2 separate regions of the Homo sapiens genome follow, and region 2 is linked to region 1. Evidence: promoter capture Hi-C in human tissues and cell types (Jung and others, 2019). All regions are on one chromosome and are shown on one strand. Each heading gives the region's core, a stretch centred on a gene start or on the middle of the fragment in contact. The rest is flanking DNA. Distances are from core to core; before and after follow the strand shown. Region 1 holds the start of VKORC1L1 (vitamin K epoxide reductase complex subunit 1L1). Region 2 holds the start of SNORA22 (small nucleolar RNA, H/ACA box 22).

Region 1 (3,704 bases), core at 468-2,967:
TCTGTTGCCCAGGCTGGGGTGCAATGGTGTGGTCTTGGCTCACTGCAACCTCTGCCTCCCAGGTTCAAGCAATTCTCCTGCCTCAGCCTCCCGAGTAGCTGGGACTATAGGCACATGCCACCACACCCAGCTAATTTTTGTATTTTTGGTAGAGACGGGGTTTCACCATGTTGGCCAGGCTGGTCTTGAACTCCTGACCTCATGATCCACCCGCCTCGGCCTCCCAAAGTGCTGGGATTACAGGCGTGAGCCACTGTGCCCGGCCAAGAAAAGTCAATTTTAAGCACTTAAGCAGGCCAGGCGCGGTGGCTCATGCTTGATTCCCAGCACTTTGGAAGGCAGAGGTGGGTGGATTACCTGAGGTCAGGAGTTCGAGACCAGCCTGACCAATATGCTGGTCTCGAATATGCTAATAGGCAACAACGTTTAAAAGTCATTCCAATGCCTAAAACACCACCATATACATAACATACTTGTCCTTTACTCCAATGAAGCTTAAACTAGACCCAAACTCAGACCATTTCCTTCTCCTGGCACACTGAAACATACGAGAGGGAATCCAAGAAATCAGATATGTTAAGTGCGGGTATCTTCTTCCACAGTAGGGTCAAATTCGTGTTTGCCAGCAAATGTCACCGTCCCAGTTAAGTCTGCAAATTCTCACTAGCGCTGGAGTACAAAGAGGCCTGACCACGGAAACACCTGTCCTAGCACCAGGAAGACAGTGGGAAAGGCAACCCCCCTGTCTCCGCGCCGGCCCCAAAGCCTCGGCTGCAGCGATCGGGGGGACAAGAGGTTGCCGCTGGTCTCAAGGGTGCGGTGGACAAGGTCCCACACCCCCGGCCCGCCTCCCGAGAACCAGGAAACCTGTCAAGCCAGCCTGGACCCACCCTCCGCAGCCCCCTCGCGCTCCTGCACAGCCGGGCCCCAGCCCGCCCGACCGCTCCGCGTCCGCCCCGGCCTCCCGGCTGCACTCTGCCACCTCATCCCTCCCCGGCTGCCTCGCGGCCCCGCCACCTCCGCCCCGCGGCCTGGGCTCAGGCCGCCCCCCGGGCAGGAGCGCCCCGCCGCCGCCCCCCGCCTGGCCCCGACCCGACCCCGTCAGTTCCCCAGCGGCCCGGTCCCCGCCGCCCCCAGGCCTGAGCTCCCGCCGCGCGCTCCCCACCCCGAGACTCCACCCTCGCCCCGCTCGGCCGCTCCTGGCCCACTCCCCCAAGCCGGCTACCTGGAGGCAAGGGCGGCGGAGCACTTCACCCAGGGCCCCAGGTCGCAGAGGGCCCGGTGCTCGGGGTCCCGCTCCTTCTCCCGCTCCACGTGGTAGGCGTAGATGGAGAGCAGGATTCCGGCAGCGCACACTGCATACCGGGCCACCCGCTCCCACCGCGGCACCGACACTCTTAGCAGGACGGGAGCCGCCATCTTCCCGCCGCCGCCGCCGCCGCCTCCCTCCGCCTCCACCTCAGCCGCCGCCGCCCGTCGGGGCCCGACCCAGCCGCCACCGCCGCCACCGCCGCCTCCGCCGCCGCCGCCACCACCGCCGCCGCCGCCGCCGCGCCCCATTGGCTCGGTGGCCTGCTCCGGGCCCCGCCCCCACAGGCGCGCGGCCCAACCGCCCCAAAAGGAGTGAGGCGGACGGGGCGGGGAAGGCGCGCGCGGGCGCGGAGGGAGGGGGTGGAGTGCGCAACGGCCGAAGAGGCCGGATCGGCGGGCGGAGACTGAGGCGGCGTGGCGCTGCGCCGCGCGGCCGGTCGCGCGCGAGGGGTGGAGCCCGGGGGAGAAAGGGGTGGGGCAGGGGTGGGGATGGGCGGGGCAGGGGTGGGGAGGGGCGGAGCCAGAGAGGGGCGGGGCCGAGCGGGCCAGTGCGGGAGGGACTTAAAGGAGCGGTCTAACTAGCACATTGCAAGGATGCCACTGTGGGTGACTGGGCGAACCCTCGGCCCCTCCCTCTGGGGATGGCAATCAATTGCCATCCTTTTTCCCTTTTTCGTTGTATATTTCTGACCCAATCCAAATCAACCCTGGCCAATGCTTGGAGCTCCAGAGACCCACACCTATGACCTGATCTTCCCACCACCACCTTCGGTTAGACCTGTGCAAAACTTTTTTTTTAATGTGCAAAACTATGTTTTAAATTTAAAAACTATTTTTAAAAAATGATTTATGGACCGGGTACAGTGGCTTACACCCGTAATCCCAACACTTTGGGAGGCCGAGGCAGGTGGATCACTTGAGGTCAGGAGTTCGAGACCAGCCTGGCCTACATGGCGTAACCGCGTCTCTACTAAAAATACAAAAAACAAACAAAAACAAATTAGCCCGGTGTCGTGGTGGGCGCCTGTAATCCCAGCTACTCGGGAGACTGAGGCATGAGAATTGCCGGAACCCGGGAGGTGGAGGTTGCAGTGAGCCAAGATCGTGCCACTGCACTCCAGCCTGGGCGATAGAGTAAGAGTCTCAAAAAAAAAAAGAGAGATTTACGAATGCCTTGCTTTTCCGTAAGCTGAATTTGAAGTTGCTTACCATAACTCATATAATATAGAAAAATAAAGATGAGCTAATACAATCAGGACGAAGAAAAAGAAAAGTCAGAATAAAATGAAAGGCCAGGAATAAGAACACAGATAAGCAGGCCATAGGGGCTTACATAGTTATTAAAATTGCATCATAAATTTGGCTCTGAGCTTCCTGGTGGCCAAAACTAAAAGGAAAACAGATGTATGTGCTTTTTCTCACTGTCTTTAAGAAGAAACACAGGGTTCTTGGAGATTTTCAGTGTTTCCCTGGTTGCAGCTTTCAATTTTTCAGGGGCTTTATATAGTGATTTTGAATAATAAGCAATATCCTTGTATTCGTTATCTATTGTTGGGTAAAAATCACCCCAAATTTAGCAGTTAATAAACAATAAACTTTTTTTTCCCTCACAGTTTCCACGGGCTAGGAATCTGGGTGAGGTTAGCTGTGTCCTCTGGCTCAGGCTCTCATGAGGATACAATCAAGCTGTCAGCCAGGGCTGCAGCTCTCTCAAGGCTTCAGAATCCTCTTTCAAACTCACTTCCACTGCTGCTGGCAGGCCTGAGGTCCTCTCTGGCTGTTGGCTGGAGACATCATTTCCTGTCCACTTGCACCTCTTGGTAAGAAGCGGCAGGCTTACCCCAGGGAGAGGGAGGAGAAAGAGGAAGAGACAGAAAAAGAAAATGAGAGTGAGATCACAGTCCTTTTTTGAAACCTAATCCCAGAAGTGACATCCCATCACTTTTACGAAGTCTATTGCTACTTAGAAAATAGTCTCTAGGTCCAGCCAGTCATGGTGGCTCACACCTGTAATCCCAGAATTTTGGGAGGCCGAGGTGGGTAGAGCACCTGAGGTCAGGAGTTCGAGACCAGCTGACCAACATGGTGAAACCCCGTCTCTACTAAAAATACAAAAATTAGCCGGATGCGGTGGCACATGCCTGTAAACCCAGCTACTTGGGAAGCTGAGGCATGAGAATCACTTGAACCTGGGAGGTGGAGGTTGCAGTGAGCCAAGCTCACACCATTGCACTCCAGCCTGGCTTACAAGGAAAAACTCCATCTCAAAAAAAGAAGAAAAAAAAGAAAGAAAGAAAGAAAAAGAAAATAGTCCCTAGGTCCAGCCCATGCTCAGAGGGAGAGGATTACACAGGACATGAATATGAGGAAGCTATCTACCACAGTCCTCAAAA
Region 2 (3,704 bases), core at 497-2,996, 120 kb after region 1:
AACAAATCCTTTATCTGAATTACTACAGACTTTCCTTTTCAGTTCTATTATTTGTTTTAACTCTATCTTCAATGAATTTTCTTTCAGCTTTTATGAGTTTTTCTCTTTCTGCACTCTTGTAAAAAACGCCAGAATTCACTTCTCTATTAAGAAAAAAAAAAAGTTACAGAAAGCAGGGAAACATTTATTTTTTGAGAAAATAGCTTCTGAAACTGGATTAGTCCTAAGATTTAACAAACAGCTCACTGAGCTCCAATCCTGCCCCTTGCACATCTTCAGAGGCTGTTTCCTATAACTCTCCCAAACCAATTTGAGGATTATTGTCCTTACAGTGGGAAACGAAGTTTCACAAAAAAGTAACTCACCTAAAACACGAAGCTCCTCCATTTAAGTTAAGGGGCTATAAACTTAAGTTTTTTCATATTCTAATGACACGTTACAAATGAGGATATATGCATCCTCCACCCTTTTCTTCCTATCAAGATGCTATGCTCCATGGTCCAAAACAAGCCCTCTGATTAAGCTGTTCAAACATACACAAAATTATGGTTATTGATTTCCAGATGGGTGTACGTTAAACACCGAACTGAGAAGGCACTGATAATTTTCATGCAGTCAGCGTTGTTTCTTGAATTACTTGAAGATCCTATGCTGTACAGAAAAGTCTGCAGAGATAGTCTCCCTGGTAGGCTGTCAAACTGTGATGATATCTTTTAAAAACATGTTTTCTGCCAAGTGCCTGTAATGCCAGCACTTGGGGAGGCAGAGGTGAGAGGACACCTTAATCCCAGGAATTCAAAACCAGGCTATGCAACATAAGGAGACTCCATTCTCCATAAAAAGAAAGGAAAAATGAACATATACATGTTTTCTAACTAAGTCTTTAGAAAAAAAAATTTTTTTAATTCCTCTACTGCTTCTCATTATGCTTTGTACCTAGCAATTCAATAAACGCCAAATGACTGATGTTGTTCACCTTTCGGAATAATTCTACCCATAAATACAACATAACATTCACCTTATTTCAGGAGAAAATATTACTAAAAGTAAAAACAATCTTCACCTAGCAATTTATCCAACTTATATCTTTACCTAGCAATTTATCCAACTGATATCTTCAGGTAAATATACAATATTTTATATCCAAATATATTAAAAATTTTGCCAACAATATATATTGTACAAAGCACCCCTAAATTTCAAAACACACTTTATTAGTTTCTTTTTTTTTTTTTTTTGAGATGGAGTTTTGCTCTTATCACCCAGGCTGGAGTGCAATGGTGTGGTCTTGGCTCACTGCAACCTCCGCCTCCCAGTTTCAAGCAATTCTTCTGCCTCAGCCTCCCAAGTAGCTGGGATTACATGAGCCCGCCACCATGCCTGGCTAATTTTTGTAATTTTAGTAGAGACGGGGTTTCCCCATGTTGGCCAGGGTGGTCTCGAACTCCTGACCTCAGGTGATCTACCCACCTCGGCTTCCCAAAGTGCTGGGATTACATGCCTGAGCCACCAGGCCCGACCATTAGTATTTCATAGTCTTCTACCACCTACCTTGTATCAGTTTCAGATTTATGTTTCTTGTCAATGATCACAAAATCATGAAGAGATCAATAGGTTCATCTTTTCTTTTAATGGCCAAAATGGAGCCCACTACAGCCTGCAATAGGAGAAGGATAACCATTAAGTAAATTCAATTTGCAGCAGCAGAAACATGTTGCTTTTCAGAAGGCTAAAGTAGACAGTTTCTTCATTTTACAATCTCTACACTGATTTGTATTTTTCTATAAGCAGATAGAATACATTATATATGAACAGCTGTTACATTTCTGAAATCTCAATCTGTAATTCTCAAACATTAACATTCCTTAACATTAACATTCCTCCTGGTGTTTCATTAAAAATACTGATAACTGGAAGCTTTCTAATAACAAAATCTCCACTTTATAAACCTTTTAATGAAAGCTCCAATTTTACTTTTAAAACCCGGTTAGGTATACTATTATTTGAATTTCCTCATTTTACTTTTTAGAGACACAGATTAGGTATCACTGCCACAAAAATGAACCTACATAGCACCTTGTGATTGAAATTGGTAATTATATTCATGTTTCTACTATCAGAGATTTTCTACATAGGTGTACCATACCAGACACAGACAAAATTTAATACATACCTCTGTTAAGACATCTGCAAGTTCAGCATGAACTTTAGTACAAAGAGATGCCCTGGCCACATCTTTAAGTGTTTCCTTGTCCATCTCTCTGCTTACTTTGACTTCTTCCAAAAAATGAAGGGCTTTTCCTTCACAGCTTCAAATCCTTCAGTGATTATTCTGGGATGAAGGCCCTACAATAAACACACAATAACACTTGCATCTTCAATTAGGTGCAACTATAGTTCATGATAAAGTTCAGACAATTCTTGGAGGGATACTCTGATCATCCTATCTTTGAACACGAGGTAATATAATGTGCTGGCTTTCTGAATACATTTAAAAGGATAAATATTCCTTTTAATGCAGAGGAGAAGAGCAGGCAATGCTCTAGCACAGGGTCAAAGCCAAGGGAACTATAAAGCACACTTGGGTGTTCACTGTGCAAACCACTCCGAATCATGTCAAAACCGACACTGTGTCCCAACAACTCACAGATGGTAGCATTATTCTATCTTTTCTATAGGTAATCTCAAACTAATTCCATCATTTACTAATAAAAATAAATAAAGACTATCTGCTCTCTTTTACCCGAAAATTCTGACAATAGATTCGTAGTCACTGAGGTTTGTTTTAAACCTTGGAACTAGTCAGGGCTAAAAAAGTGGAATTTATCTAAATGTAAGCTTTTGGTTGTCTCTTTCCTAACAAATAAATATGCCTAGTCCTAAACATCCCATTTTAAAATCTCAATTATTAATCTAAAGACAGATACAAATCACATAGGCAATTCAACTTGATTACAAAATTATTTTCAGGCCAAAAAAGGTTCCATAACCTGTCCAAGCTCACAACAAATTTGTTTTAGACCAAGACAAAGACCCAGATTTAAGCCCCCTAATCCTACTGTATGGCCTCCGCTAGTATTAACACATCAATTTGTATAAATAAGTATCTGACACGTCCTATATACAATAATATATTACAGAAACAAGAGTTGTGTGCCGGGCGCGGTGGCTCACGCCTTTAATCCTAGCACTTTGGGAGGCCAAGATGGGTGGATCACCTGAGGTCAGGAGTTGGAGACCAGCCTGACCAACGTGGAGAAACCCCGTCTCTGCGACAAATACAAAATTAGCCGGGCGTGGTGGCGCATGCCTGTAATCCTAGCTACTGAGGAGGCTGAGGCTGGGAATTGCTTGAACCCAGGAGACAGACGTTGCAGTGAGCCGAGATGCCATTGCACCCCAGCCTGGGCAACAAGAGTGAAATCCCATCTCAAAAAAACAAAACAAAAAAAAGTTGTGCATACTTCAGAAATGTAGAGATCTGCCTGTTTCAGCAGCTCTCCAATGATTAGGACATTGGAAGTCGTACCATCACCAGTTATATCATCCTGGGCTGTTGCTACCTTTGCTATTAAGGAAGCTGTTGGGTGTTGAATTTGCTGAAAGTAGAAAAAGAACGAATCACTTAAAACAATATGAAACAGTCTAAAAATACCACAAATAAAATGCATGAAGGGCCTCTTTAAGTACTATCTACTTGAAAA

The links. The method cuts DNA at HindIII sites, captures the fragments that hold promoters and counts their contacts. A contact is called where the count stands out against the background at its distance.
Region 2: a contact is called between a fragment that was not itself captured here and the fragment with the promoter of VKORC1L1 in region 1, in 3 of the 25 tissues and cell types used here (dorsolateral prefrontal cortex, hippocampus and mesenchymal stem cells).

Annotation. Positions count from the first base shown.
Region 1 is chr7:65,871,087-65,874,790 of GRCh38, reverse strand. VKORC1L1 (vitamin K epoxide reductase complex subunit 1L1) reads right to left here and starts at 1,717. Exons shown (of 3, transcript NM_173517.6): 1 at 1,226-1,717. The coding sequence starts at 1,419. RefSeq lists enhancers at 216-767, 1,319-1,870 and silencers at 936-1,005, 1,553-1,732, 1,446-1,945, 1,966-2,025. The HindIII fragment of the contact is 24,487 bases long and covers 1-3,704 here.
Region 2 is chr7:65,754,422-65,758,125 of GRCh38, reverse strand. The region is part of intron 2 of LINC03006 (long intergenic non-protein coding RNA 3006); the gene reads left to right. It overlaps SNORA22 (small nucleolar RNA, H/ACA box 22), which reads right to left and starts at 2,600; the gene lies at 2,467-2,600. It also overlaps the pseudogene CCT6P1. The HindIII fragment of the contact is 6,285 bases long and covers 1-3,704 here.